2 separate regions of the Homo sapiens genome follow, and region 2 is linked to region 1. The links are contacts of gene promoters, found by promoter capture Hi-C in blood cells and fetal thymus (Javierre and others, 2016). All regions are on one chromosome and are shown on one strand. The core of a region is centred on a gene start or on the middle of the fragment in contact, and the rest is flanking DNA. Distances in the headings are between cores, read along the strand shown. Region 1 holds the start of LINC01063 (long intergenic non-protein coding RNA 1063). Region 2 overlaps PCYT1A (phosphate cytidylyltransferase 1A, choline).

The links. The method cuts DNA at HindIII sites, captures the fragments that hold promoters and counts their contacts. A CHiCAGO score of 5 or more calls a contact.
Region 2: a contact is called between a fragment that was not itself captured here and the fragment with the promoter of LINC01063 in region 1, in 3 of 17 cell types (naive CD4 T cells, fetal thymus and naive CD8 T cells). The highest score is 6.5, in naive CD4 T cells.

Annotation. Positions count from the first base shown.
Region 1 is chr3:196,628,986-196,634,546 of GRCh38, forward strand. It overlaps LINC01063 (long intergenic non-protein coding RNA 1063), which reads right to left and starts at 3,602. Exons shown (of 2, transcript NR_132101.1): 1 at 3,403-3,602; 2 at 2,519-2,660. RefSeq lists an enhancer at 3,270-4,024 and a silencer at 3,414-3,493. The HindIII fragment of the contact is 3,065 bases long and covers 3,248-5,561 here.
Region 2 is chr3:196,250,796-196,256,646 of GRCh38, forward strand. The region is part of intron 3 of PCYT1A (phosphate cytidylyltransferase 1A, choline); the gene reads right to left. Among named protein-coding and RNA genes, the nearest start is that of PCYT1A, 34 kb to the right of the region's middle. The HindIII fragment of the contact is 1,188 bases long and covers 676-1,863 here.

The DNA.
Region 1 (5,561 bases), core at 2,352-4,851:
GCAGTGGTGCGATCTCAGCTCACTGCAACCTACGCCTCCTGGGTTCACATCATTCTCCTGCTTCAGCCTCCTGAGTAGCTGGGACTACAGGTGCCCACGACCACGCCTGGCTAAACTTTTTTTGTATTTTTAGTAGAGACGGGGTTTCACCATGTTGGCCAGAATGGTTTTGATCTCTTGACCTTGTGATTCACCCGCCTCGGCCTCCCAAAGTGCTGGGATTACAGGTGTGAGCCACCATGCCTGGCCGATAATTGTATTTTAAATAAGAAACCTAAAGCTTCAAAATCCTCAAAATATAATACTTAAAAACATTTATACAGATATTAAAGGAATAGTTCAATAGCAGTGAAATATTTTTAATTTGAGAAGCCAAATACATATTCATGAATCACTCTAGAGATACAAAGAGAAACTGCACAATTTCAAAACAGTATGGTCAAAATATGATGTCATTCTGTTTAACTAGCTTTAAGATGTTGCTAGGTGCTCCAATGTTCTAATTTAGACTATAATAGGAAAACACATGTTTTACATAAATGTATTTTCCAAATAACTAGAGAGTATCAGTTTAAGCACTAATCTTTTTTATTCTGATTTTCAAAAAATGTTAAACAAATCCCACTTCACGGGGATTACAGATGTGAGCCGCCACACTTCCCTTTCTTGTATACTGAGTCTATGTTAACCTATTCTTTTTTTCTGGCGTGATCTCGGCTCATTTGCAACCTCCACCTCCCAGGTTCAAGTGATTCTCCTGTCTCAGCCTCCTGAGTAGCTGGGATTACAAGCATGCACCACCACACCCAACTAATTTTGTATTTTTAGTAGAAACAGGGTTTCACCATGTTGGTCAGGCTGGTCTCGAACTCCTGACCTCAGGTGATCTGCCTGCCTCGGCCTCCCAAAGTGCTGGGATTACAGGCGTGAGCCACAGTGCCCAGTGGTTTATTTTTATAGAACAGCTTTATTGAGCTATAACTCATCTACCATATAATTTACGCATTTAATGTGTACAAGGCAATTGCTTTTAGCATGTTCACATACTCATGAAACCATCACCACAATTTTAGAACATTTTCATAACCTCAAAAGGAAACCCCATACCCATTACCAGTCACTCCCATTTTCCCCCAAACCCCCAGACCTAGGTAACCACTAATCTTTCTCTCTCTACAGATTTGCCTTCTCTGAACAATTCATGTAAATGAAATCATGTAACATGTGATCATTTGTGACTGACTTTTTTCACTTAGCATAATGTTTTCAAAGTTTGTCCCTGTTGTAGCATGTATCAGTACTTTATTCTCTTCTATGGCTGAGAAATGTTCCACTGCATAGCTGGGCGCAGTGGCTCAAGCCAGTATTCCCAGCACTTTGGGAGGCTGAGGCGGGTGGATCGCTTGAGCTCAGAAGTTCAAGACCAGCCTGGGCAGAAACCCCATCTCTACCAAAAATACAAAAAATTAGTCGGGTGTGGTGGCAGGCACCTGTGGTCCCAGCTACTGGGGAGGCTGAGGTGGGAGGATCGCTTGAGCCCAGGAGGAGGTTGCAGTGAGCTGAGATAGCATCACTGAACTCCAGCCTGGGTGACAGAAAGAGATCCCATCAAAAAAAAAAAAAAGAAGAAAGAAGAAAGAAAGAAAGAAGGAAAGAAAAAGAAAGAAAGAAAGAGAAAGAAAAGAAAGAAAGAAAGAGAAAAAGAAATTCCACTGCATGGATATACTGTATCCACTCGTCAGTTAGTTGATGGACATTTGGGTTTTTTCCACTTCTTGGTAATCATGAATGATGCTGTTCTGAACATTCATGTTCGGGTGTTAGTATAGCATGGCTTCAGGTGTTAGTATAGCATGTCTTCAGGTGTTTGTATAGCATGTCTTCATTTCTTTTAGGTCCCTAGGAATGGAATTTGTGAGCCACCTGATAACTCCATGCTTTTACCTTTTGAGGAGCTGCCAGACTCCTTTCCAAAGTTTCTGCACCATCTTACATTCCCACCAGCAGTGTATGAGGGTCGCAGTTTCTCCACATACTTGTTTTATTTGACCTTTTGATGCTAGGCATCCTAGTGCATATAAAGTGATATGTCATTGTAGTTTTTGTTTTTGGGGTTTTTTTAGACAGGGTTTCACTCCCGTCACCCAGGCTGGAGTGCAATGGCACAATCTCGGCTCACTGCAACCTCTGCCTCCTGGGTTCAAGTGAGTCTCCTGCCTCAGCCTCCTGAGTAGCTGGGATTACAGGCACAGGCCACTGTGCCCGGCTAATTTTTGTATTTTTTTGTAGAGACGGGGTTTCACCATGTTGGTCAGGCTGGGTTTGAACTCCTGGGCTCAAGCGATCCACCTGCCTCAGCCTCCCAAAGCGCTGGGATTACAGGTGTGAGCCACAGCGCCTGGCCTCTCATTGCAGTTTTGATTTGCATTTCCCTGATGACAAATGATATCAAGCATCTTTTCACATGATTACTGGCCATTTGTATACCTTCTGTGGAAATGTGGTAACACCCTTTGCTGATTTTAAAATAGGGTTATTTGTTTATTATTGAGTTGAAATAATTCCTTCTTTTGAGTGTCAGTGACTGAGGTTCGCTGTGACACAGAGGGGTTCTCCTGGAGAGCTATGGCACATGCTCCATATTAAAAGGCAACATGATGCTGTCAGGAAGAACACAAAAGCAATTATAAAAACGTGTTAGTACATATTTATGCATCTTTTTTCTTACTCTCTCTTTGCTATCTATTCTCACAGCTCTAAATATGAATTATTTCTCTAGGTAGAGGCCAAGCATGAGTCAGCTTCTCCCAAGAATCAGTTGCCTGGGCTTCGAGACAGTTTTCTGCCGTATTTTGGGTAATTGTAGTTGCCAGGAGTCTGACTTCTGAGGGTGTCAGGTGCCATTTGCCGTTAAGTGGAGATAGTAGGTTGAACAGGGTGGGACTAATTGGGGCCAGTTTTGAGGAGGTGAATCTTTAGTGAAATCGCCAAGAACACAGTGGTGAGGACCTGGCAGAGAGGAGGAGATTCCAAGGCTGGGGGAATTGGGTAGTGGCGTCTGGGCACTGGGTCCTGTAGAAGGGAATTGGCGAGATGAATGAGCAGGGCTTCACAGGTGTGACTGATCTTGGTAAAGACGGTGAGAAGCCGTGACCAGGCAGGGTGTGCATGGGAGCAGTGAAAGGTCTAAAATTCAGCCTTTGAGCTCAGTGCTAGGTTCATGCTAGTAATTGGTTCCGATAGGTTAAGCTTCCTCTGGTTTGCCGGTGTGAGAAGAAAGAAAAACCTACTCCTCCCTGTTTCCGCCTCACCAGCTTCCCTTCTCTGCCAGCCCCACCCTGCCCCCGGCCCGTGTGGCTAAACTGCCCAACTGCCGATTAAAACCCGCACCTCCCAACATACCTCGCACCACCCAGAGGCCCCGGTCCCCGCCATTCATTCCGCTCCCGGCCGGGAGTCGCTCTAGCCAATCACCTTCCAGGCTCAGGGCGGCCGAGGCAGGGCCTCTGCCTCTTCGGGGGGCCTCTCCCTCCCCCTGCCCCTGATTGTGGCTGAACTGCCACCGCTTGATAGCAAACCACACTCGGCACAGGAAGGAGAACAGCGCCCGCGGCCCCGGGCCTCCATGAAATCAGCAAGGGCGCGCTCCTCCCACCGCCGCGCTGCTGAGCCTCCCGCCTTTCCTTCCGGTCGCTCGCGCCTCGAGAGGCGCCGCAGGGAGCCCTCTGCCGGTCCCGCCCTTCGCTGTTAGCGCTTAGGATCTGGTGCCTTTTCACGTGGGGGCGGGTGGGCGGGAGGCGAGTCTGGGGTCTTCGGGCCGGGCCTCCGCTCTCTGGCAGTTTGCACCTTGCTCCACTCACTGGCCTGCGGTCTGTGTTCACTCCTCCTCCTCTCCCACGTCTCAGGAACCTGCAGCTGGCCCCCGAGCCCGCGCCCTCCCGGTTCTAGGAATTCACCACTTTCTTGCCTTTGTTTGGGTATCTTTTGTTTGGAGCCAGAGCCGGCTCCAAGGAGGAGCTGCCGGAGGGTGCTAGGCTTTTTGCAGAGGAAGTGAGGAGCAGAGTGATAGGGCGTGAAGTCAGAGGGAGCAGAGAAGGGGCCGAATCCAGCGGGGCCCGGATCATGCAGGGCCCGGAGCCTGTGGTGAGGACTCCGGGATTTATATTCACCAATTATGAGAAAGGACTTCTCGGCCGGGCGCGGTGGCTCACACCTGTAATCCCAGCACTTTGGGAGGCTGAGGCCGGCGGATCGCCTAAGGTCAGGAGTTCGGGACCACCCTGGACAACATGGTGAAACTTTGTCTCTACTAAAAATACAAAAATTAGCCAGGCGTGGTGGTACATGCCTGCAATCCCAGATACTTGGGAGGCTGAGGCAGGAGAATCGCTTGAACCCAGGAGGCGGAGGTTGCCGTGAGCCGAGATCGTGCCACTGTACTCCAGCCTGGGCAACAAGAGCGAAACTCCGTCAAAAAAAAAAAGAAGAAGAAGAAGAAGAAGAAAAGAAAAAAGCAAAGAAAGAAAAGAAAGAGGACTTATCAATGACCACAAATGACTAAGTCCTCAACCTCTCCAACAGCTCTAGAGCAAATGACACTTTAGCCTGTGCTGAGCCCCTACAAGGTGCTAGACCAAGTATTCTTGGGGATATATACAAATGTGAACAAGCCAGAGACCCTGCCTGGCAGGACTCACTGTCCAGGGGGAAGGCAAAACTGCAAAGATGAGCTGGGACGCCCCATGGGAAACGCTGGACAGAGTCAGCCACAAAGCCATCCCCTTGCAGCCTCCTCCTTGGCATGGCCTTATTTTCCTTGTTGGATCCCTAGTGTCCTACCCCATGCCAGGTCCCACCCCAGGAGGGTCCAGTTCACACTTCCAGAAAGTTTGGGCTGCACTGTCCCAGCGGCTGTGCCCTTCGTGCTCTCCCGCTCCCAGGACTCTCCCAGCACCGCGTGCCCATTTTCCCCAAGGTCCTTTCGGCCCTGGACCAGACCATGGTTAGTTATGGGTGCCCCTTCCCCTCGCTGTCCCACTCCACGCCCTGGCACTGATAGGACACTTCCATGTTATCTTTGCACCACCTGGACTCTTTGATCATATGTTGATACTGTCGGTGTTTCAGGACAGGAAGAGGCAGTGTCCCCACAGAGGTCAGTCACCGGAGTCAGTGGCTGCGGGAGGCCATGGGCAGCAGGGAGCTAGAGGAGCTGATCTCAGGATTGGAGACCGCCACCTCCTCCAGGAGGAGAAACACGCGGGGAAGAGCCCCCAGCCCCACCCCACCCCCGCACTGCCTTCAGCCTCTGCATTGACCCCTCCGCTTTTCCAGGATGGGCATCATGAGGCGTTGAGTGGTACCAATGTGGGCGGTGGGCTCTCCTCTTTCCGGTTTTAATTCTTGGTTCTTAAAAACTCCGTTCCAAATGAGGGAAATGAAACTACTGAACACTCTCCCCCAGCAGCCAGCTGACGTGGGGCAAGAGAACAATTCCCAGTTAAGGCCCCAAAGGAAATCCCCTCCCTGCCATGTGCTGAGGCTGGAGAAGTGGGGGCTGG
Region 2 (5,851 bases), core at 20-2,519, 380 kb before region 1:
AGGATCAGATACACTATGCTGAGGTTGAGGACCAGATACACTATGCTGAGGATCAGATACACCATGCTGAGGTTGAGGATCAGATACACTATGCTGAGGCTGAGGACCAGATACACCATGCTGAGGCTGAGGACCAGATACACTATGCTGAGGATCAGATACACTATGCTGAGGTTGAGGACCAGATACCCTATGCTGAGGCTGAGGACCAGATACACCATGCTGAGGCTGAGGACCAGATACACCATGCTGAGGCTGAGGACCAGATACACCATGCTGAGGCTGAGGACCAGATACACCATGCTGAGGCTGAGGATCAGATACACCATGCTGAGGCTGAGGACCAGATACACCATGCTGAGGCTGAGGATCACATACACCATGCTGAGGCTGAGGACCAGATACACCATGCTGAGGCTGAGGACCAGATACACCATGCTGAGGCTGAGGACCAGATACACCATGCTGAGGTTGAGGACCAGATACACCATGCTGAGGTTGAGGATCAGATACACTATGCTGAGGCTGAGGACCAGATACACTATGCTGAGGCTGAGGATCAGATACACCATGCTGAGGTTGAGGATCAGATACATCTCCTTCCTGTCTTCAGGGCAATGAATGAAGGAGAAGGAAAGTAGTTCTCAGGAGGTTTATGAATTTTTGTTTTCAAAAAGCTTTACTCATAAATAAGTAGATTTTAAACCAAGAAATCATACACTGCTGAAAGGAGTATCAGCAACTTTCAAGAAGGGCAATTAGGTCGTATCTATCAAAAGACAAACGACAAATGCTTATAGCTGTGGCCCAGCTTTTCTAATTCTGGGAATTATCTCACAGTAAATATAGATGTTATTCATTGCAGTACTGTTTATAATAGCAACAGTCAGGAAACGACCTACATTTCAACGGAAGATTGAATATAGCATAATACACCCACTAAAAGGTGGGAGGATATATAAACAATTTACTTAGATATTCACAGAAATGGGTAATATTGGTGGCCTGTTATAGGGATACCAGGTGGCTGTGAGACAGGTCTTGAGAGGGAGACATTTTACTTTATGCCCTTTTTGTATTTTATGGATATTAAACTGTGGGAATGTATTGATTTCACTTGATTTGATTTTTTGAGACAGGGTCTGGCTCTGTCACCCTGGCTGGAGTGCAGTGGCATGGTCTCAGATCACTGAAACCTCCACCTCCCAGGCTCAAATGATCCTCCCGCCTCAGCCTCCCGAGAAGCTGGGACTACAGCGCACACCACCACGCCCCGCTGACTACAGCGCACCCCGCCACGCCCCGCAGACTACAGCGCACCCCGCCACGCCCCACTGGCTACAGTGCACACCGCCACGCCCCACTGGCTACAGCGCACACCACTACGCTCAGCTGATTTTTGTATTTTTTGTACAGATGGGGTTTCACATGTTGCCCAAGCTAGTTGTATTTTTATTTATTTATTTATTTGAGATGGAGTCTTGCTCTGTTGCCCAGGCTGGAGTGTGGTGACATGATCTAGGCTCACTGCAACCTCTGCCTCCTGGGTTCAAGTGACTATCCTGCCTCAGCCTCCCAAGTCACTGGGATTACAGGCGAAAGCCACCAAGCCGGGATAATTTTTGTATTTTTATATTCGTATCCCATGTTGGCCAGGCTGGTCTCAATTTCCTGACCTCAAGTGATCTGCCCGCCTTGGCCTCCCGAAGTTCTGGGATTACGGGCGTGAGCCACCATGCCCAGCCCAGGCTGGTTGTATTGATTTTATAATACAGGAAATAAAAATTTTAAATTAAATATACCAATCCAATGAAAAACTAAGAATTAATTAATGGATTTAAGAGTCAGAAAGGTCATAGCTCAAGCTTTGACCAAGCTTTCCAACCAGCTTTCTTCCTCTGTAACCTTAACTTCCTTATGCCTCAGTTTTCTCATCTATGAGAGAAAGCAGGCTGGGTACAGTAGCTCACACCTGTAATTCCAGCACCTTGGGAGACCAAGGTAGGAGGACTGCTTGAGCCCAGGAGTCTGAGACCAGCCTGGGCAACACAGTGAAACCCTATCTCTATTAAAATTATTTTTTACTGCCAGCATGTGTCAACTAAAAAAAAAGAAGAAAAAAATATTTTTAAAAAGATAATTTTTAATAAGACAAAGCAAAATAAAACAAAATTTGAGCATATAATCCCCCTTCTATGTCCCAGAAATCACTGCATTGGCTCTATGCCTATTAAAAAATAATACATTAAAAAGATTTTTGGGCCGGGCACAGTGGCTCACGCCTGTAATCCCAGCACTTTGGGAGGCCAAGGCAGGTGGATCACCTGAGGTCAGCAGTTGAGGCCAGCCTGGCCAACATGGTGAAACCCTGTGTCTACTAAAAATACAAAAATTAGCTGGGTATGGTGGTGGGCGCCTGTAATCCCAGCTACTCGGGAGGCTGAGGCAGGAGAATCTCTTGAACCCAGGAGGCAGAGGTTGCAGTGAGCTGAGATCGCGCCACTGCACTCCAGCCTGCGAGACAGAGCAAGACTCTGTCTCAAAAAAAAAAAAAATTGAAGTATCCCAGAAGTCACGTCCATGAAGTAACTAACATAGTTCCATTTTCCCTAAACAAGTCCAGAGGGGCTATGATCTCACACTATTCGATCCTGAAACACAAGGGATAGAATATACAAATGAAGACTACTTTGTTGTTTCTTTGCTACTAGACAGCATACAGCAGGGAAATTTTGCTCAAGAAACACATTGCCTGGATGGTGGCAATAGCACAGAATGCTGTTGATCAAGTGGCTGCTTGCAGCACAGCTAATCATCCTATGTTAGGCCAAGTAGATCACTGAACCTTTTCTCAGACCAATCCCAGATGCGCCTCTTGCTCTCTCCAGTGCTTCCCCAGCCTACCAACATCTCAACTGGCCACCATTCCATCCCAAGTCTTTGGCAAACCCAGGCTGATATATTAACCAAACGGCCAGAAGGGGTCACTGTTGAACTAGTCTGGGAAGAAAGCTAGCGTTAGCCATTCTTTTACCAAGTGGCTATTGGCCAGGATAAACACACCCCTGATTTAATGTATGTTATAGTATATATAATCATATTTATATAAATTATATACTTTTAATATAATTTTTCCTGTTTCTATTATATAATGTACTATATAATACATATTTAATATCATTTATATATTATGCATATATTACATATGTATATATGTTATATAGATAGATAGATAGATTTTTTTTTTTTGAGACGGAGTCTCACTCTGTCGCCCAGGCTAGAGTGCAGTGACGTGACCTAGGCTCACTGCAACCTCTGCCTCCCAGGCTCAAGTGATTCTCCTGTCTCAGCCTCCTGAATAGCTGGGATTACAGGTGTGTGCCACCACGCCTGGCTAATTTTTTATATTTTTAGTAGAGACGGGGTTTCACCATGTTAGCCAGGATGGTCTCGATCTCCTGACCTTATGATCCACCCACCTCAGCTTTCCAAAGTGCTGGGATTACAGGTGTGAGTCACTGTACCTGGCCTATATATATATTTTTTTAATTTTTATTTATGTATTTATTTATTTTTTAAGATAGGGTCTCTGTCACCCAGGCTGAAGTGCAGTGGTGCAATCATGACTTGCCGTGGTCTAGACCTCCTGGGCTCAAACAATCCTCTCACCTCAGCCTCCTGAGTGGCTGGGACTATAGATGCACACCACCACACCTGGCTAATTATTAAAATTTTTGTAGAGATGGGATCTCACTGTATTGCCCAGGCTGGCCTTGAATTCCTAGCCTCAAGCAATCCTTCTGCCTTGGCCTCCCAAAGTGCTGGGATTATAGGCATGAGCCACCACACTCAACCTCTGTATATTATTAACAGCAACTCCCTTTCATGCTCAAAACCGTCCTGATTTGGATGATAAATTATATGGTTTATGTGGGTTATGAATTATACGCTGCACCACTGGTGACTAAGTAACCATATGTCCTCCTTTAGGCAGAAGAAACCTGGGTTTCAGTTAATGATCTCTTTTGATAGATTTACTCTCCCAAATACCTACCACCGAAACATTCTGTTCCTAACATTTCCATTGCCCTTCACACTCTCCCTTTTCCTTCCTTTCTCTGAGTTAAACATATTGCTGATTTTTTTCATCTCCCAAAAGATTCCTAGAGCTGACCTTCTTGTCTCTCAAATCATATTTGTTTTTCTCTAAGTAGAGAATCTTCTCCTAGATTATACAACCTCCCTCGTAAAAACCTGGGGAGCAGGAGGGAGGTGTTGAAACTTCACTAGAGCAGGTGCATTCTTTATTGCTTTATTCCTTGTCCTGCACTGGCATGAATGCAGTTACCTACTTGGTGATTTAACATAAAACAGTCAGACAAAATGAGATCTAAGAGAAAAACCAGAGTTCAAATTAAGCTGGCAAATTTATAGGCTAATTTGTGGCTGTTTGTTCCACCAAAAATACAATTATTTTGCTGAAGGCCTTCTATTCTAATGCTTACAATGAGTAGCACCATTCCCGGGTGAGGTTTGAGCTGCAATTCTATTCCACTAATCATCCGTTTTACTGTAGGGGAAGCCTTCGCTTCTTGGTTACTATGGACCTTAATTGCTTTATGTACTTAATGAAGAAACTATAAAGTAGATAATCTTGAAAATGACTTATTTGTAAAATCCTATAATTCTAAAATTAAAAACAATTATACCAGTCAGGACTTGTTAATTATAAGCTTTAAAACTTGGAAACAGGCCCGGCACGGTGGCTCACTCCTGTAATCCCAGCTACTTGGGAGGCTGAGATTTGAGAACTGCTTGAACCCAGAAGGGAAATGTTGCAGTGAGCTGAGATCACACCACCGCACTCCAGCCTGGTTGACAAGCGAGACTCTGTCTCAAAAACAAAACAAAACAAAAGATCAACTTGGAAACAGTACACATATTTTCAAATTTTATGTACCACAAATGATATATAGACAAATTAGCAACAAACTGGATAATGCAACCCATCAGATCAAATCTAAATGAATAGCTGATTGTAAATGTGTGTCATTAGAGAGTATGTAAAAAGTTCTTGCTTTCAATAGCCTCTACTATCACATCTGAATGTGAACCCTGAACTATCTTCTGGCGTTTTGAAGTTAGACCTGGCTACCATTACACAATCCATAGTCTCTGGTTTTCTTTGTCATTTTACCCTGCCTCCAGGAGCCTACCTATTACCCAAATAAGGGAAGCCAAACTCAAAAATCTTATCATGAATCAGAAGGTTGTGATCAATATGAACTATATCTACACATTTTTTCAAAAGGAAAGGATTCTCTGGAATTAGCCTCTTTTTTGTTGAGGACCCCAAACCCACAATACATATACCCAAGATAAGGCCAAAGGATAGGTGTTAAAATTCCCGGCATTGGCCGGCGCGGTGGCTCACGCCTGCAATCCCAGCACTTTGGGAGGCTGAGGTGGGTGGATCACGAGGTCAGGAGTTCGAGGCCAGCCTGGCCAACATGGTGAAACCCCGTCTCTACTAAAAATACAAAAATTAGCCAGGCGTGGTGGTGCACACCTGTAATCCCAGCTACTCGGGAGGCTGGGGCAGAAGAATTGCTTGAACCCGGGAGGAGGAGGTTGCACTGAGCCAAGATTGTGCCACTGCATGCCAGCCTGGGCAACAGAGTGAGACTCTGCCTCAAAAGAAAAAAAAATTTCCCAGTATGACACTGTACATCACTTCTATTTGTTTTTTGTTTGTTTGTTTTGAGACAGGGTCTCGCTCTGTCACCCAGGCTGGAGTACAGTGGCATGATCTCAGCTCACTGCAATCTCTGCCTCCCAGGTTCACATAATT